5 separate regions of the Homo sapiens genome follow, and all the other regions are linked to region 3. The links are contacts of gene promoters, found by promoter capture Hi-C in blood cells and fetal thymus (Javierre and others, 2016). All regions are on one chromosome and are shown on one strand. Each heading gives the region's core, a stretch centred on a gene start or on the middle of the fragment in contact. The rest is flanking DNA. Distances are from core to core; before and after follow the strand shown.

What was found. The method cuts DNA at HindIII sites, captures the fragments that hold promoters and counts their contacts. A CHiCAGO score of 5 or more calls a contact.
Region 1: a contact is called between a fragment that was not itself captured here and the fragment with the promoter of IDI1 in region 3, in 1 of 17 cell types (endothelial precursors). The highest score is 7.5, in endothelial precursors.
Region 2: a contact is called between a fragment that was not itself captured here and the fragment with the promoter of IDI1 in region 3, in 1 of 17 cell types (fetal thymus). The highest score is 5.1, in fetal thymus.
Region 4: a contact is called between a fragment that was not itself captured here and the fragment with the promoter of IDI1 in region 3, in 1 of 17 cell types (endothelial precursors). The highest score is 5.6, in endothelial precursors.
Region 5: a fragment that was not itself captured here is called in contact with the fragment with the promoter of IDI1 in region 3 in 1 of 17 cell types (endothelial precursors); the score reaches 5.5 in endothelial precursors.

Annotation. Positions count from the first base shown.
Region 1 is chr10:3,047,551-3,051,330 of GRCh38, reverse strand. No RefSeq gene overlaps it. Among named protein-coding and RNA genes, the nearest start is that of PFKP-DT, 17 kb to the left of the region's middle. RefSeq lists enhancers at 3,189-3,752, 3,753-3,780, 3,080-3,780. The HindIII fragment of the contact is 6,297 bases long and covers 1-3,780 here.
Region 2 is chr10:3,167,241-3,170,988 of GRCh38, reverse strand. PITRM1 (pitrilysin metallopeptidase 1) reads left to right here. Exons shown (of 27, transcript NM_014889.4): 2 at 783-885. Among named protein-coding and RNA genes, the nearest start is that of PITRM1, 3.7 kb to the left of the region's middle. RefSeq lists an enhancer at 1,542-1,591. The HindIII fragment of the contact is 3,737 bases long and covers 582-3,748 here.
Region 3 is chr10:1,046,605-1,050,721 of GRCh38, reverse strand. IDI1 (isopentenyl-diphosphate delta isomerase 1) reads left to right here and starts at 1,603. Exons shown (of 5, transcript NM_004508.4): 1 at 1,603-1,858. The coding sequence starts at 1,719. RefSeq lists enhancers at 955-1,094, 766-1,295, 1,555-1,604, 1,296-1,825, 1,826-2,356 and silencers at 1,695-1,914, 1,925-2,014. The HindIII fragment of the contact is 1,083 bases long and covers 588-1,670 here.
Region 4 is chr10:3,089,092-3,092,662 of GRCh38, reverse strand. The region is part of intron 2 of PFKP (phosphofructokinase, platelet); the gene reads right to left. Among named protein-coding and RNA genes, the nearest start is that of PFKP, 23 kb to the right of the region's middle. RefSeq lists enhancers at 1-258, 1,113-1,312, 793-1,992. The HindIII fragment of the contact is 2,141 bases long and covers 555-2,695 here.
Region 5 is chr10:3,072,789-3,076,776 of GRCh38, reverse strand. All of the region lies in intron 1 of PFKP (phosphofructokinase, platelet), which reads right to left. Among named protein-coding and RNA genes, the nearest start is that of PFKP, 7.2 kb to the right of the region's middle. RefSeq lists enhancers at 1-55, 56-620, 2,827-3,328. The HindIII fragment of the contact is 3,467 bases long and covers 606-3,988 here.

The DNA of each region.
Region 1 (3,780 bases), core at 4-2,503, 2.0 Mb before region 3:
AATTTACCACAGCTTAATATGAGGGTCACTATGAGCTATACGACAGGTTTTATGTTTAAAAGTTTGCAACATTTTTTATTGCTCTTTCATTTACAAACTACAGTAAATGCTTTTTTTATGTTTAATTATGAAATATATGACACATAAGAGTCTATAAAACTTGGCTAGTCATGGTGGCTCATGCCTGTAATCCCAGCACTTTGGGATGCTGAGGTGGGTGGATCACCTGAGGTCAGGAGTTCAAGACCAGCCTGACCAACATGGTGAAACCCGTCTCTATTAAAAAAAATACAAAAAGTTAGCGAGCATCATGGCAGGCGCCTGTGATCCCAGCTACTCGGGAGGCTGAGGCGGGAGAGTCGTTTGAACCTGGGAGGCGGAAGTTGCAGTGAGCTGAGATCGCGCCATTGCACTCTAGCCTGGGCTACATGAGCGAAACTCCACCTCAAAAACAAACAAAGAAACGAACAAAACTGAATGCATAATCCTATAGAGTAATAATTGCACTGTTGTCATCATCCTTTAGCATCGAGTGTCTTGAAAGGCTACAATATGCCCTTCCTTGATCACCTGGGTCTCCCTTCTTCACCCATACATAGGACTCATGTGTTAATATTTGTCTTGCTTTTCATAAGGTTTATCATTTCTGTGTATATTATTAAGCAAAGTCATATGGTTTGTGTACTGTATATGGAATAGCAGTGTATTTTTCAGTAATTTCCTTTGTTCACTGTAATTTTTCATTGTTGATGCTTTTAACTGCAGTTCATTTTCACTGTTGTATAATATTGCACAATGTGAGTATGCCAACTTTTTTCCTTGATAGAGGTGTATTTGGATGGCCTTCAGGTGTTTTCTATTTCTACAATCACTGCCTAAATATTCTTGCCCCATATGTGTCTCTTGGACAAGACAGTGCAAGGGCATTTCTGGGGGGACATGCCTGAGAAGGCAAATGTGAGGCCACAGAGCTTTTTATGAAATACAGTCTCTTCACAGCTGCAACAGCAGTGGATACTTTGCCAGCAGTTGATCTTTTCCACCTTTTGGATTTTTGTGGCTCTGCTGAATTTGTTTCTTGAATTATTGGATGTATCCACAGTACTTTGTTTACTTATGTTTTGTAACTTTTTGCACCTGGACTTATCTTCCTTGGAATTTTATGTGGGGAGATATTTTGAGGACAGAGTTGCATTGTTTCAGCAAGGATTTTCTGCTCACATGGGGTAGAGGTGAAGCTAGCAGCCACCTGGTGCCACGTCAATTTGACCCATGCTCTTGATGTCTTCCAGCATGAACTCCTGGAGGACTGTTTCTCACTGGTTCTCAGGGTCAGTGGTTTTCCCTCCACCCATCACCAATGCAGGGACAGGTGCTCTCCTTGCTGCTCCTGCTCTAAGGTGGGCTTTTATTTTAAGTCTAAGATGTCAGATTTCCAACCTCATTTTGGAGAGGCGTCCGGTTTTCTTTCTTATGCCCTGTCCTCTGTGCAACTGTCTAAACAGAAAAAAAATTCCACTTTGGTTCCTGCCAATTCTTTATTGACTGCTGTGGATTCCATCCTTCAATGCCAGCCCAGTCGTGCACTTACAAAGATGTATTTTTGTAGGTTTTATCCAACAACTCAGTTGTTTTATTGGGAAAGCTACTTAGTGTCCCTTATGTTCGAAGTTGGAAGCTCCTGGCAACACCGTAGGTGAGACAGCTGCTCTTCCCCCTTTTCATCATCTTCGTGCTGGGTCCAGGCCTTCTTTGCTCTGTGATTAAGATGCCACAATGGGCTGGGCACAGTGGCTCACGCCTGTAATCCCAGCACTTTAGGAGTCCAAAATGGGTGGATCACCCAAAGCCAGGGATTCAAGACCAGCCTGGCCAACAAGGTGAAGCCCCGTCTCTACTAAAAGTACAAAAAATTAGCCGGGCACAGTGGTGGGCACCTGTAATCCTAGCTACTGCAGAGGCTGAGGCAGGAGAGTCTCTTGAACCAAGGAGGCAGAGGTTGCAGTGAGCCGAGATCATGCCATTGCAGTCCAGCCTGGGCAACAGAGTAAGACTCCATCTCAAAAAAATGTATATGAATAAATAAAAATAAAAATAAATTGCTGCTATAGCCTCTGAACTGCTTGGTCTGCCTCTGGCATCCGTTCTCATGCCCCACATTGGCAGAGATGCGCTCACACCCAGAGGGAAGGCAGGGAGACTGAAGGACTATTATTATTAACAAGAAAGACAAAATTATTCTGAGGACAATGTAATTCTGTTTCCTAGAAATAGTAAAATGCTTTGATAAATTATTAGAATTAACAAAATTCAGTTTAGCACTCATGTTCAAAATGATCACCAACTTTAATATGCCAACAGTAGCCAGACTAAGTAAGAAGAGGGAGTCAGGAGGTCCGCCCACAAGGGCTGGGCCTCTGCATAGAGGGCAGAAAGGTCGACTCACTCTGCAGCCTCCTGCTCCATCAGCATTTTCTGTGGTGACAGCCTGAAACGGCCTGGCCCTCCCTCTCCTGCCTGGGGCCTCCAGCCCAGTCTCAGGGCTGGGCAAGGAATAAGCCCCATTTAGGGCATTTCCTCACTTGACCTTCTTCTGGGCTGAAACGCATTTGCTTTCCAAGTGCTCGTCAGGGAGCCGCACATAGAAGCTCTTGTTTTCTCCCCACTGCTGACTGGTTCTGGGTTCGGGGGTTTTCTCTCCACTGCTGACTGGTTCTGGGTTCGGGGGTTTTCTCTCCACTGCTGACTGGTTCTGGGTTCGGGGGTTTTCTCTCCACTGCTGACTGATTCTGGGTTCGGGGGTTTTCTCCCCACTGGTGACTGATTCTGGGTTGGGGGGCGCCCCCCGTTCCCCGGGCTTCTTGGCCACTGCATCTTTGGCTTTCGCTCCAAGATTTTGACCTCAGTTAAGGATTCAGAAACTTTCTTTTTACACTTTATTCTCAGATTGTTTTTTTAAAAGTCAGGCCAAAAAAAAAAAAAAGACACAGAAAGTGGAGTGAGTCAAGAGTGAGTGTAAAGTTCCGAGGATGAAGCTGAACACGCACGAGCCTCTGTCAGGGTGGTGTCTATGCTCAGGAGCCATGTTCATCCCAGAGCTTCCCAGGACTGAGACCCTAAAAAAAAAAGGAAAAAAAAAAAAAGGAGCATAACAGAAGTAAATGCTAGGATTCTCCATAAGGTCCTTTTTTTTTTTTGGTGAATGGGTTTTTCCCTTAATTTCTAGGCATTTGGCATCATGGAAATAGAACAGCAGCATCTTCTACCTGCAGGGCTGAGATTTTTCGGGTGGACAGAATAAACCAGGGACCCGTATACAGATCAGAGGGTGGGTTGGCAGAAGAGGATGGGCACAGAGGATGTGGGATGATACCAAGCGGCGTTTCTACCATGATGTGTGTGGGATGCGGGGAGGGGAGAGAGAAGCAGGCAGGGAGACAGAGAGAGAGGGGGAGAGTGGGAGACGGAGAGAGAGAGAGAGAGGTAGAGGGAGATAGAAAGGGAGAAAGGGAGGGAGGGAGAGACAGAGAGAGAGGGAGAGAGAGAGAAAGGGATGGATAGAGGGAGGGAGGAAAGGACAGAGAGAGGGAGAAAGAGAGAGAGAGAGAGAGAGGACCAATTCACCACTTTTGTCCAAAGAACCAGGCCAACTGTCTGGAGCCCGAGCGTACCTTCTCTAAAGGGTTTTGGAGCATATGATTCCCTTATTCCTGCAGCTCTTCTAGAATATGACCATCTTCTGACTGTTATTCTATTTTTTTTTAAAAATACACTCCTATG
Region 2 (3,748 bases), core at 1,201-3,700, 2.1 Mb before region 3:
CAATCTTCAGCATTTTTTTCTTTTTTTTCCGACAGTCTTGCTCTGTCACCCAGGCTGGAGTGCAGTGGCGTGATCTCGGCCCACTGCAGCCTCCACTTCCCGGGTTCAAGCGATTCTCCTGCCTCAGCCTCCCAAGTATCTGGGACTACAGGCACCTGCCACCACATCAGGCTAATTTTTGGCCAGGCTGGTCTCGAACTCCTGACCTCAGGTGATCCGCCCACCCAGGCCTCCCAAAGTGCTGGGATTACAGACGTAAGCCACCACGCCCGGCCTCTTCAGCCTTTCTAAAGAATGCCAAGTGCTTTTCCAAAGTTATTCCACTTTGTACTCCCTGTAGCAGTGTATGAGAGTTCCCGGTAATATTAGGCTTTTTAAGTTTTCAGCAATTCGGTAGGCATGTAATGGGATTTAACTGTAGTGTGAATTTCTTGGTATACTGTGAAGGCTTTTGAGGATTCTGTGAAGGAAAGAAGCCCTTTTGTTTAAGAGTTGTCTCTTAAACAAGGGGAATTTAAACTGTAATTGTATTATAGTTATTTGTGAACAAGTGTAAAGAAAAGGTTTCCAACATTGAAGCTTTAGTTAAGATAAAGATCATTAAAATGGAAAGGACCTTACCAGAAATCAGTTTTCTGGAATGTGCAAGACTTTGGAAGATGCAATATTTAATTTTTCTTTAATAATCTTTATTACATGAGAGTATTTTCACTATGTGGCTGAATAATGTTAGCCAGATACTTTTCCTGCAACTCATCTAACTTAGATGACTTTTAATCTAGACATGCACACCACAGAGCGTGGCGATGGAACAGTAACCGGGCTTGTGAGAGGGCTCTGCAGTATAAACTAGGAGACAAGATCCATGGATTCACCGTAAACCAGGTATGGGTCGTCCTCGGCACCTCCTTATAAATCCACATACATTGCAGGTGCGGCTTCTGGCCTATGTACGGAGCCCTTCAGGGCGGAGACTAGCGTTTTTGTCCTTGTGTCCCAAGGCCCTGGCCCAGCTCCTGCTGTGTGGCAGCTACTCGGCTGAACAGAGCTTGTGAGTGAAATGAGCCCCAGTCCCTTCCTGGAATCCCGCAAAGCCTGGTTCTTGTGAGATTTTAGAGAGTAACACTTCCAGCTGGGTCTCTGTAATCAGACACACTAGCGTTTCTGCAGCCAAACCTGATGTTTCACTGAGCATGAGCATGAAGACTCACTGCCCTGATCTGTTTAGTCAGGTTTTGCCATCAAATAGCTTGCTCTAAACGTCCGCAGAACCTTTCAGTTTTCTGAGCCATTCGGGTTTCAGAATGATAAAGAAGCAATTGTGGACCTGTACTTACTTGGGTCTGTATTAAAATAGATTCATTTGGTTTTTGTTTTGTTATTTTGCCTAAACCTTTTGCATTGTTTCTATTTAGCATGGTAACTGAAAATGACACGCTTCATGTATTTGGCCAGCTGTTGGCTTTGTGCTATGCTTGATGTTATAGCAAACGTGAAAGACAAACAGCTTACTGTCTAGAAAGACTGCTGCGGCTGTGACCGGAGGCACATGGTGGACGCCACGCGGAGGGCCAAGGACAAGGGCAGGAGGAGGAGTGGGAGCTGCTGCTGCTGGGGGCAGAGGGAAGAGCTCCTGGAGAGGGTGGTGTGAGAACGTGGCTGCCTTCGGTCAGGGCTCCAGCAAGGGAGCCAGGGCAGTGACTAGGGTGCGCCAGACAAGGTCCAGGCATGGGACTCATGAAAAGACTTGGAGCGTTTGTGAAATCCTGCAAAGGCCAGGCAAAGACACTTGGGTTTATGGTACAGGTTACTGTTAATAAGGGCCTCACCCACAGCGGTAGATTCTCCTCCTTTATTTCTCAAATTTTATAGAAACGTATTTACTTTTGAGACTGGGACTCACCCTGTCGCCCAGGCTGGAGTGTGGTGGTATGATCTTGGCTCACTGCAGCCTCGAACTCCTGGGCTCAAGCGATCCTCTTGCCAAGTAGCTGGGACAAGGTGCCACCACGCCTGGCTAATTGTGTGTGTGTGTGTGTGTGTGTGTGTGTGTGTGTGTGTGTGTGTGTGTGTAGATGGAAACTTTGTTGCCTAGACTGGTCTCAAACTCCTGGGTTCAAGCAATCCTTTTGCTTGTGTATTAGTCTAGTCTCACACTGCTATGAAGAAATACCCAAGACTGGGTAATTTATAAAGTATGAGCTAAAAAGTGAAGAGGTTTAATTGACTCACAGTTCTGCATGGCTGGGGAGGCCTCAGGAAACACAATCGTGGTGGAAGGCATCTCTTCACAGGGCGGCAGGGGAGAGAATGAGGATCAAGTGAAGGGGGAAGCCCCTTATAAAACCGTCAGCTCTCATGAGAACGTGCTCACTGTCACGAGAATAACATGGAGGAAACCGCCCTCTTGATTCAATTACCTCCCACCAGGTCCCTCCCACAACATGTGGGGATTATGGAAACTACAATTCAAGATGAGATTTGGGTGGGGACACAGCCAAACCATATCACCTTGGCCTTCCAAAGTGCTGGGATTATAGGTGTGAGCCACTGTGTCCAGCCATAGAAACTTACGATAAGTCATGATTCTTGTTTGAGAAATAGCTACCATGAAAGCTATTATTATTAAAGCTATATATTATTAGAAAGCAAACATCTCACTGTATCTGCTGACTTCAAAAGCATTGATCATCTGTTACAAAGTACAGTGAGCTTGGAAACAGAAGTAATTTCGCGGCGGTAGATGATGCAGGTCATAGTGGTCTGCTTTATGCATGACTGTTGCGTGGCAGGCTCCCTAGATTGGGCTGAGGAGACCCGAGGTCTGACCTTGGCCAGCGACTTACTGTGTGCGCTTGGCCAGGTGACTCATGGCACCTGGCAGGAGGGGGTGGTGAGTGGTGTGGTGATCACAGGGACGTGGTGTGTGATTGAGGGAGAGGGCCGGCTGGCATGACTGGAAGAGAAGACAGTTTCTTTCATACCGAGGAGTATGGTCACTTACCAGGAGGCTTACCTAAAGTAGGAGATGACCTTCCACGCCGCCCCAGGAGTGGGGAGTCTTTCGTCTGTCTTGTGGGCATTTCTATCCTCCCGGCCCCTCCAGCTGTTCTGGAAGCCACAGCTTTGTGCTTCTAGCTACCACCGAGAACCCATCCTAAACTAAGAGAAGCAAAGGCTGATCCTAGAGCCTCTCCCTGCTGTCGCAGGCTAGCCCACTCTAGCATTTCCCCTCCTTGCAGGCCCGTTCTGCGCACTACAGGAGATGATATGCACAGAAACAGACACACAGCCAACGTTGGAAGGGGTGCTGTGTTACTGAGGCGCAGCACACAAAAGCAGGAGACACTCAGCAGACATTGGAAGGGGCGCTGTGTTACTGAGGCACAGCACACAAAAGCAGGAGACACTCAGCAGACATTGGAAAGGGCGCTCTGTTACTTAGGTGCAGCATGGTACCATGGGAAGGGCAGACACCAGGGTGAATCCTGGCTCTGTGATTTAGGCAGCTTATTTCATCACCCTGAGCCTCGGTTTTTTCGTCTGTAAATGAGTATGAGAATACCTCCCTCACAGGATTATATGTGACATGATTAGAAAATGCCTAGCCAAAAAAAGAATAAAAAATTTAAAAAATAAAAAAATCTAAAATACCTAGCCAGTAGTAAGCGCGTGCGCTCTCGCGCTCGCTCGCTCGCTCGCTCTCTCTCTCTTTCTATACACACACACACATATTCTCATCTGCCTT
Region 3 (4,117 bases), core at 354-2,853:
GTCTGAGTGTGGGTGTGTGAGTGGCCCTGTGATGGAATGGCGTCCTGTCCAGGGCTGGTTCCCTCTTTGTGCCCTGAGCTACTGAAACAGGCTTCAGCTACACATGACCCAGAACTGGAATAATTAAGTAATAATTATCTTTTTATTCATCTTTCTTAAATGTATGTATAGCTCACATTTATTTCAATGTTTAATATTAGAATACTTTGGCCTTTAGAAGCTTAGTGATTTTTTTTTTCCTTGGCCAGAAGTATGCTTTAGGAACTTAATCCTTATTTTTTAGCCTCTGGTAAAATTGGTTTTGCTATACGTTGTTTCACTTAAAAGTCCTGATTCCCAAGAACGCACTGACAGCAGTGAGGACTTGCTGCGCATGCGGGAGGCCAGATTTTCTTATCTGTGTGAAGCCAGACATGAAAGAGATCTGTCAACACATAAAACAAAATCAAAGTCTGTTTTTTGTCTGGAAAAGATTTTTAATAAAAATATAACTTATGTTAGTGTCGTGTGTTTTTTAAGTGAATATTTTAATATGTTTAATTTCTATGTTAGTAAATAGCAGTAGTAAACAACAGTGAGCAAAAGCTTTTAGGTGTCCTCAGTACATTTTAAGAGAGTGCAAGCGTCCTGTGACCAAGAAGTTTGAGAACTGGTGCCCACCAGGTTCATCTCACAAGTTCAGTATTTTAAATTCCACACAAAAGGTAGAGGAAATAGCTGAATTCGCTTCAGCTGCGCATACATTTCACGATTATTTAAAAGTTTAGAGGGCTAGGCGCGGTGGCTCACACCCGGAATCTCAGCACTTCGGTAAGCTGAGCCAGGTGGATCACTTGAGGTCAGGAGTTCCAGACCAGCCTGACCAACATGCGGAAACCCGTCTCTACTAAAAATACGAAATAAGCCGGGCGTGGTGGCGCATGCCTGTAATTCCAGCTACTTGGGAGGCTGAGACGGGACAATTGCCTGAACCCGGGCGGCGGAGGTTGCTGTGAGCGGAGACTGCACCATTGCACTCAAGCCTGGGCAACAAGAATGAAACTGTCTCAAAAAAAAAAAATTTAGAACGTAGTCATGTACCTCGAAAGCGAACACTCCCAACATAGCGTGGAACACCCCACACCCCCGGCGACTTTGCTCCGCCTTGGTCCCGGTCGCAGACACCGCAGAAAGGCCATCGTTCTAGACATACGAGAACTCCCCGTGCAGCCAAACGCTGTAGTCCCAGCGGCGGAACTCGGGGGGGGGGAGGGGGGGGAGTGCCCAACCAGCCAGTCAGCAGTGACGTCCCGCCTTTCCTCCGTTTCCATTGGTCCAGCCATGCGGAGGTCGCTCCCATGGGACGCCGAGCTTCCGGCTGCAGGGCTTGGCGCCCGGGCGCTTTCGGATTGGGAGGGCTTCCTCCATGGAACGCGAGCCTCGAGACGTCTGACGTTAGGCACCGTTCGCAGCGCCTCGGGCTCGCACGGCAGGATCGAAAGCGTGATTGGCTGGCGGCGTCTGTGGTCTCGGGCACCGCCCAGTCGCGGGACGCTGCCTCTGCGGAACTGGGGGTGGGGCGTGTTGACCCCCTTAAAGGCGCCAGAGCCCGCGGTCACGGCTCAGGTTCCCGGTGCTTCGCGCGTCTGCCGTTGTCACAGGCCAGGGAGGTGGCACCACCAGGCGAAGCTTGGCGAGATTGTGTCGTCAAGCGCGTACGGGCGCCAATTGGCCGGGCGATGTGGCGTGGACTGGCGCTGGCGCGAGCGATTGGCTGCGCGGCCCGGGGGCGGGGCCAGTGGGCGGTGCGCGCCGCAGACTGTGCTCAAAGCGGGCGCCATCCGGGACCGGCGGTTGTCTGTGGCCGGAGGCTGATCAGGTACTGTGGACGGGCGGCGGAGTTCGGGAGACAGGGGCAGGGCGGCATCGGGGAGCTGCGGGACGGGGCGGGGAGGAGGCCCGAGGTCTGAGCCACCCGTGAGGTCTCGGCGCGGAGGCCTGGACAGCTGGGGGTGGCGGCGTTGGTCTCCCGAACTGGAGGGAGGCCGGGCCTTCCCGGGCTGTGGTGGGCGCCCGCGCCCCGTGGAAGGCGGAGGCGTGAGTCGGGGCGTCAGAGACGTTGCCATTCTTTGTCAGCGGAAAAGATCGTCGTCTGCGCACAGTCACCTGAGGTTTAGGAACTCGTGGAACTGGAAACCGAGTCGCAGGAGACTAAGAGTTGCGAGTCTCCCCTTAGAGAATTCAGAAACAAGCGTAGACAGCATCGTCAGAAACACGAGCGTGACGACACCGGCCTCCCCGTGCCGAGTCCACGCGTGTGACGCGGGTGCATACACCTGCGTCCGTGCAAGAGGGTGACAGCAACACACTCAAGGCGCTTCTCCTGGGAATGGAGCAGGAGAAGAGATGGGGAGCATCGCATAGATGGAACTAGACCTTTTTCTTGGGTTGGATGATGTGTTCCCGCGTCTACTACATGGTATTCTTTAAACGCATAAATAGACGTATTCATTTTATCTTGTGATTATGCAGCTTAGCTTTAAAATCTGAATTCTGAAAATCCTGAAAGAGCAATTGTCATTACAGCTGGGCGGTGGTGCACGCCTTTAATCCCAGCACTTTGGGAGGCGGAGTCGAAGGCTGCAGTGAGCCGAGATCGCGCCACTGCACTCCAGCTTGGGCGACAGACATAGCAAGACCCAGCCCCATCCCCCCGGAAAAAAAGTCATGTCAAAAAGTCTAGTAATTATGTAGTAACGAAACCTATCTTAGTGATCACCTAATATACAGTTGGCCTACTGTATCCTTGGGGTCCATATCCATGGATTTAACCAACTGCACATTATAAAATATTTGGAAAAAAATTTCATCTGTACTGAACATATACAGACTTATTCTGTAAACAATACAGCACAACTATTTATGTAGGATTTACATGTTTTAGATACTATAAGAGATCATCTACAGATGATAATTTAACGTTCGGCCCGCATCACTTAACAGGGATACTTTGGAGAAGTTCATTGTTAGGTACTTTCATCATTGTGGAAGCAGAGTGCGCTGACGCAGACCTAGACAGTGGAGCAGCTGGGCTGTGTGGTGTAGACAGACGGTGGAGCAGCTGGGCTGTGTGGTGTAGACAGTGGAGCAGCTGGGCTGTGTGGTGTAGACAAAGGACCAGACAGTGGAGCAGCTGGGCTGTGTGGTGTAGACAGTGGAGCAGCTGGGCTGTGTGGTGTAGACAGTAGACAGTGGAGCAGCTGGGCTGTGTGGTGTAGACAGTGGAGCAGCTGGGCTGTGTGGTGTAGACAGTGGAGCAGCTGGGCTGTGTGGTGTAGACAGTGGAGCAGCTGGGCTGTGTGGTGTAGACAGTGGAGCAGCTGGGCTGTGTGGTGTAGACAGTGGAGCAGCTGGGCTGTGTGGTGTAGACAGTGGAGCAGCTGGGCTGTGTGGTGTAGACAGTGGAGCAGCTGGGCTGTGTGGTGTAGACAGTGGAGCAGCTGGGCTGTGTGGTGTAGACAGTGGAGCAGCTGGGCTGTGTGGTGTAGACAGTGGAGCAGCTGGGCTGTGTGGTGTAGACAGTGGAGCAGCTGGGCTGTGTGGTGTAGACAGTGGAGCAGCTGGGCTGTGTGGTGTAGACAGTGGAGCAGCTGGGCTGTGTGGTGTAGACAGTGGAGCAGCTGGGCTGTGTGGTGTAGACAGTGGAGCAGCTGGGCTGTGTGGTGTAGACAGTGGAGCAGCTGGGCTGTGTGGTGTAGACAGTGGAGCAGCTGGGCTGTGTGGTGTAGACAGTGGAGCAGCTGGGCTGTGTGGTGTAGACAGTGGAGCAGCTGGGCTGTGTGGTGTAGACAGTGGAGCAGCTGGGCTGTGTGGTGTAGACAGACAGTGGAGCAGCTGGGCTGTGTGGTGTAGACAGTGGAGCAGCTGGGCTGTGTGGTGTAGACAGTGGAGCAGCTGGGCTGTGTGGTGTAGACAGTGGAGCAGCTGGGCTGTGTGGTGTAGACAGTGGAGCAGCTGGGCTGTGTGGTGTAGACAGTGGAGCAGCTGGGCTGTGTGGTGTAGACAGTGGAGCAGCTGGGCTGTGTGGTGTAGACAGTGGAGCAGCTGGGCTGTGTGGTGTAGACAGTGGAGCAGCTGG
Region 4 (3,571 bases), core at 376-2,875, 2.0 Mb before region 3:
TATAATTTTACATATTTGTGGGGTACATGTGAGTATCTGTTGCATGCACAGAACCTGTAATGACCAAATTAGGGTACTGGGGTGTCTGTCACCCTGGGTATTTTTAACTTCAACCCATTCAGAACATTTCCAGTCCTCTCCCCCAGCTGCTCTGAAATACATTAATATAATACGCTGTTGCTAACACAGCCAGCCTACTCCGCTATCAACACTGGAACCTACTCCTATCTAAGCATATGTTTGCACCCATCCACCTCTCTGCATCCCCTCCTGTCCACACCCCCTTCCCAGCCTCTGCTATCTACATCCTCCTCTCTACCTCCACGAGACCAACTAAAGAAGGGAAGCATGATGCCAATCAATTCATTGATAAGTTAATGGTTTGTTTATTGGTATAGTAAGTCAAGCTGTAATGCTCAGGGCTGAAACAAGGGAAGCTAAGATCACATGCTGATATTTCAAGCTCAGAAGGGTTGGCCAGTCTGGGTGCAGGGACAGGGCTGCTGACCGGGGGCCATGGGGAGATGGAGACCCTCGGGCACCTGAGCTAAGCTTGGGGGCCGGTGGCGGGGGTCAGGTGGCACAGGCTCCATGGCAGCACATCTGGGAAGACCAGAGGCTGGATGCTGATGCTGTACCAACACCCTTTATCCTTTCAACATAAAAAGGCATCACTTATCTGACACCTTTTGAATGTGTTATTTTTAATCATGGAAAAAACTAGCGATAAAATGATCAGAATTATTCCTAGCCTTTCTTTAGGGTGTGGACTATGACAAAGACAGCTCTGATATTGTTTACAAACAGCTGTCTAGAGCAGAACCAAACTTTAAAACAAACAAAAAATTAAGATAAAAGACTTTTTTCTTTTTCTTTTTTGACACAGTCTCGCTCTGTCACCCAGGCTGGAATGCAGTGGCGCAATCTAGGTTCACTGCAACCTCCACCTCCTGAGTTCAAGCCTCAGCCTTCCAAGGATTACACCACGCCCAGCTACCTGTTGTGTTCTTAGTAGAGACGGAGTTTCGTCATGTTGGCCGCGCTGGTCTTTAACTCCTGACCTCAAAGGATCCATCCGCCTCAGCCTCCCAAAGTACTGGGACTACAAGTATGAGCCACGGTGCTCGGCAAGAATCTTAAGTGAGTCATATTTGAAGAGCTATAATAATATGAACAATTTCTGAAATCTGCAGAAGAATATTCAACAACAGGATATGAAATTCATGAATGAAACCAAATGCAAGGAGCCGACTGTTTCCTGCAGACACAGTGGCAGCCCTGGATTAACCAACTGACTCGCCCCAGCTTGGTTTGGACCCACCAGAGCCAGGGTAGTTTACCCTGGGCATGGCCTTTGGGTCAAAGCATCTGATATACTTAGTATCATCATCTCCAAGAAGCTAAAGCCATTTGTAGGCTTCTAAGGAAAAACCTTAGCTTAAGAGAAAAAAGAAAGAAGCAACAATTGGTTCACCAGGTAGAAAGGAATGGGTTAACTGGCAAACCCTCCCCGAGTCTCCCTGGAATGCAGCCCAAGGCTTGGCATGCTTCACACGTAGGCTTGGCCCAGGTTTATAGGAGCTCAAGCAGCGGCCAGACAGCAGAGGTCCCTCGATGAAGGCCAGGCTTTCAGCAGAAACGCCACTGTTCCCAGGTTAATACTTTCTTCACACATGCACTACTGAAGGAAAAAACAAACCCCTTTAATTAATAGTAACCTGTTTAACTGTCCTGGTCTGTTGGTAACCCAGAGAGCTCTAGGTTAGAAACTAGAGTATAGGTGAAAAAAATCTGTTGGATAAATTACTGAGTCATCCTTAAAAAAATAAAACATAATATCCCCTCAATTTGAGCCCAAATAGGTCTAGAACAGCGGTCCCCCAAAAGAGTGATTTTCCCCCCATAGGACGTTCGCCGATGTTGGAGATACTGTAAGGACATCTTTGACTGTCATGACTATGGGGTAGGTGGACACAGGGGTGCTGCTCCGCATCCTGAGAGTCAAAGGACCGCCCACCAAGAATTGCCCACCCCAGATGCCATCGCCCTGACACTCAGAGAGAAGCCCAGCCTGTGGGTATGACGCAGAGACCAGGCCGGGGAGGGGGCTGAGCCTCTTCAGTGCAGAGCCATCTGTGAATAGATGTGTTCAGGTGCAGACCCCGTTTCCCTACCTGGCCACACACCCATGGAGTCAAAGGCATGCGCGTCTCATCCCTGAAAAGCAGTCAAACAGCTCCTCTGCCCCGTTAGTCTCAGACTTTTCCAAGTCCTTTCTACCAGGGAGACAGGAGGGCAAACACCATTTCTACTGCACAGATGAGCACACAGAAATGAAAGGTTGATTTATGCATCCACAGTCACTGCAGTACGTCCTGCAGGCCCACGATGGCTCACCCAAAACCCAGGTCTGAGAGGCAGGCCAGGACTCAGAAGACTTGGGATTTTAAAAAGCAGGTTTTCTAATGGCTTAAAAATATTCCATTGCGTATATACGCCACATTTTATCCACGCACCCACTGATGGCCACTTAGACTGATTCCACATCTTGATACACAATGGAATATTATTCAGCCAATAAAAAAGAATGAATCCTGTCATTCTGAGCAACATGGATGGAACAGGCAGAAATTAGGTGAAATAAGCCAGGCACAGAAAGACAAATACTGCAATCTCTTACTCATACATTTAAGCTTAAATAAAAAATTGATCTCATGAAGACAGAGTTAGGATTGATCTCGTGGAGACAGAGAACAGAATGATGGTTACCAGAGGCTGGGAAAAGTAGAAGGAAGCAGGGGTGTAAAGAAGGATGGTTAATGGGTAAAAAACAGTTTGAGATAGAAGGAATAAAATCCAGGGATGAGTGATACTATGGAGCGACTACAGTTAATAATGTATAATAATGTTTAATAATATATAATAATGTTATACATAATGTATAACATTGTATACGATATGTATAATACATATATAATTCATATTATACATAATGTATAATAATATATACATAATATATATTCAAAATAATATTTCAAAATAACTAAAAGAGTAAAATTGGAGTGTTCCTAACACAAAGAGATGATTGTTCTTGAGGTGATGGATATGCTACTTACCCTGATTTTATCATGATGCATTGCATGCTTGTATGAGACTATGACATGCATAGAACTCCCCCACAAGCCAGCAGCCCCACTGCTGGGCATATACCCCGAGAAAGGGAATCGGCAGAAAGAGACCTCCGCACTCCTACATTCACTCCCCATCACAACAGCCCAGTGTGGAATCAGCGCCCGTCAGCGGATAAATGGACAAAGAAAACGTGGTGCACGCCCACAACACAACACCGTTCACCCATAAAGGAGAAAACCCCATCATTTGTGGCAATGGGGATGAAAGTGCTTTACTGTTAAGTGAAATAAGCCAGGCATATGGGCGTGGTGGTTCATGCTTGTAATCCCGGCACTTTGGGAGGCCCAGGAGGGCAGGATCACCTGAGGTCAGGAGTTTGAGACCAGCCTGGCCAACATGGTGAAACCCCATCTCTACTAAAAATAAAAAAATTTAGCCA
Region 5 (3,988 bases), core at 1,090-3,589, 2.0 Mb before region 3:
CTCTTCACTCAACCACCAACCCACTGTCCAGCTCGGGTGCCCCAAGTGCCACCTCTGCTGGGCTCTGTGTGGATGCATCAGTGACAAGATGGGAAGCCTCTGGCCCTGGAAGAGCTTGTTCCGATCAGGAGAGACCCGAAAGCAAGAAACACAGTGAACAAATGCATGATGCCCATGGATGGATGGCCGTAAGTGCTAAGGAGAAAAATAACAAGCGGGGTGGGGGGTGTTGAGGGTGTGGAGGACAGGGAGGGGCTGCCATTGACAATCGGAGAGCCTGCAGACCTGCCTGAGAGTGACGTTTGGAGAAAGAAGGAAAGGGAAGAAGTTGAGGGAGTTTAGCCAAATGGACATCTGGGAAAGAGCTCAGGTAGCAGAGGGGCTGGGGCGGGGGCGCGGCGGCAGCATGCTGCATTCCAGGGTCCTCTGCGTGGCTGGGACAGTGTCGGCCCTCCCCTGCACATCCCTCAGAGCCTTCGCAAAAACACCCACATGGGGACCTTCTAAATACAGGCAGCACACGCCACCCATTGCGTGACCACACTGTCCCTCAGAGGAGCCGCTGGCCACGTGCGTCCCGTCCACATGGAGATGTGCTTTAAGCTTCTTTACACACTGGGTTTCAAAGACTTACTACGGAAAACAGTGTAAAATATGAATAATCTACAATAATTGATTGTTATCAAAATAGTGGATTGAATATAAAACATAGTTTTTTGCTTTTACCGGTTTTTACTTTTTTTTTTTTTTTTTTTTTTTGAGACGGAGTCTCGCTCTGTCGCCCAGGCCGGACTGCGGACTGCAGTGGCGCGATCTCGGCTCACTGCAAGCTCCGCTTCCCGGGTTCACTACTTTTTTTTTTTTTTTTTTTTGCGATAGGGTCTCACTCTGTTGCCCAGGCTGGAGTGAACTGGTGCAGTCACAGCTCACTGCGGCCTCCAACTCCTGGGCTCAGGCAATCCTCCCACCTCAATCTCCCACGGGGCTGGGACTGTAGGTGTGCACCGCCACGCCTGACTAATTGTTTTGTATTTTTTGTAGAGACTAGGTCTTGCCATGTTGCCCAGGCTGGCCTCAAACTCCTGGGCTCAAGTGATCCACCTGCCTTGGGCTCCTGAAGGGCTGGGATTACAGATGTTGAGTCTTGGCACCCAGAGTCCCCCACTCCCGGCCCCCTGCCCCGCCTTTCTTTAATGCGGCAACTAGATCATTTAAAATTGCATATATAACACAGGCCACCCACATGCAAGCCTCACTCTTGGGAGATTCTCCCGTTGGAGAAACCTCCAAGAAGCTGATCTGCCTGGATTTGCAAACTGCCCCACTGGCTCCAGAGGGAAGCCGCTCTGGAATCGGCTCTTCAATACTGCCCTTGAGTATACTGTGTACCTCTTGACTTTCGACCAGCACAAAGCTCCTTATTAAACGCTGACAAAAATTCCTTCCATTCTGTTGGGAGCAGGCCCCCCCAAATCTGGCCATAAACTGACCCTAAAACTGGCCATAAACAAAATCTCTGCAGCACTGTGACACGTTCATAACGGCCCTAACGCCCAGGCTGGAAGGTTGTGGGTTTATGGGAATGAGGGCAAGGAGCACCTGGCCCACCCAGGGTGGAAAACTGCTTAAAGGCATTCTTAAGCCACAAGCAGTAGCATGAGATATGTGCCTTAAGGACATGCTCCTGCTGCAGTTAACTAGCCCAACCTATTCCTTTAATTTGGCCCATCCCTTCATTTCCCATAAGGGATACTTTTAGTTAATTTGATATCTGTAGAAACAATGCTGATGACTGGCTTGCTGTTAATAAACACGTGGGTAAATCTCTGTTCTGGGCTCTCGGCTCTGAAGGCTGTGAGACCACGGATTTCCCACTTCACACCTCTATTTGTGTGTGTGTGTCTTTAATTCCTCTAGCGCCGCTGGGTTACGGTCTCCCCGACTGAGCTGGTCTCGGCACATTCCAGGTGCCATAATGGAATTAATTAATCTCCTATTGATAGTTTTTTGCTGGTTTTCCCACTTTTTGCTATTCTAAGCACTGCTATGAAGATTCTCCTTTAACCCCCACCTGCCTGTGTCTGTTGGAGCTCACATGCTCTACCTTCCAGCTGTAACAGCTGAGTGCCCATTCACCCCAAGCCCTGACACACTCAAGTCTCTGGGTCCCCTTGGCGGGATGTGTCTGTGGACACAGGGCTGCCCTGCCACGTGCCCCACCCCATAACCTTCCATCTGTGGCCTGCTCCTTGTGATACCCTAAACTTGTGGCCTCCCCTCCCCTCCTCTCCTCTCCACAAAGCCACCCTTATCGGAGACAGTCAGTCTGCTTCCCTCCACCTGCTTCCCAGTTCACCCAAGGCAAAGCCAAAGTCCTCCACTGGGCCACTCTCCTCTACGGACTCCTCCCTCACTGTCAGGTCAGGTCAAAGGGCCCCAACCAGAGGTTCCCCTGGGCCCTTTCATAAGACAGGAGCTTTTCCTCTCAGGTCAGGCTACAGGCACGTCGTACCCGCACCTCACCACAGGAGTGACAGCTCCAGGCAGAAAGGGCCTGGTTCTTTTGCCAAAATCCTGTCCTGACTCACCCAAGGCAGTCTGTTAACATGCACAATGATTACAGAAACACAGAAATAAGGCTGGGTGCAGTGGCTCCAGCCTGTAATACCAGCACTTTGGGAGGCCAAGGCAGGTGGATCACTTGAGGTCAGGAGTTCGAGACCAGCCTGACCAACACGGTGAAACCCATCTCTACTAACGATACAAAAAAGATCAGGTGAGCATGGTGGCGCATGCCTGTAATCCCAGCTACTTGGGAGGCTGGGACAGGAAAATCGCTTGAACTCAGGAGGCGGAGGTTGCAGTGAGCCGACATCAAGCCACTGCACTCCAGGCTGGGCAAGAGGGCAAGATCCCGTCTCAAAAACAAACAAACAAACAAACAAAAAAAACACACACACACACAGAAATAAAATCTTAATCGTAGTAAGACACAGCTGAAAAGATATGAAGGACTGACTCCCCGAGGCTACTGCATGCCACCCTTTCAATCATTTTCCATTCAGGAAACTTCGGATCAGATCATTTACATATGTACGTTTAGACAAGGGGTCCTATATTAATGAATCTTCTCTGTCAAAATCCTGGTCAAAGTCAGAAAACAATCCCATGGGACTCCTGGGAGCATCTCACATTGGGGAAACCTGGAGAAGTGGAGAAGCTGATCTGCCCGATTTGCAAACCGCTCCACTGGCCCCAGGGGGTCCAGCAGCACCGGTGCCCTCCCCGTGAGAGTCGGAGCCTCACTCAGACCCACACAGTCAGGATCTACACCTCCGCAGGCTCCCCTAGGCATCTCTGGGCACACGGAGGCTGGGAAAATAGCACACGGGCCCTGGGGTTGGGGGTCCCAGCACAGTCCAGCCTATTCTCTTTTCCTCCTGAACACTTTCACTGTGGATATGTGTTAGGGAAGAGGGGAGGGAAGACAGAGACAGGGAGAGGAGACAGAGACTGAGTGATGCCTCCATTCTGCAGAGGAAAACATCAAGACCCTATCTCAGCACTCAGCACTCAGCACCCTGCTGACCCAGACAGCAGGACCAGGGCTAGGACCTATAAATGTCTCTGCCTCTCAGTGCTCTGGTCTGCCATGTGTCTGGCTGCCTCTTACATCCTGACAAGCACAATGACTGTAATTCCAAACACAGGACTGGGAGTTGGGGGTGAAGACGGAGAGAACCGAGGAGTGGGGAGGGAAACTGTAGCCTTTGGGCAGCTACTCTCTAATAAACAAAAACACAACACCAGAAAGGGCTTGTGGAAAAGAAACACAAAACGGAACCCAATTACTGACATACGGCCCTCTGTTCTATATTCACCCGCACTTTCTTAGCCGAAATGCCATTGTGAACGTGCAATCTGGTATCCTGATGTTTGTCCTGACTACGTTACCGTATCTTCACCTTTCTAATTTTAATTGCTTCTG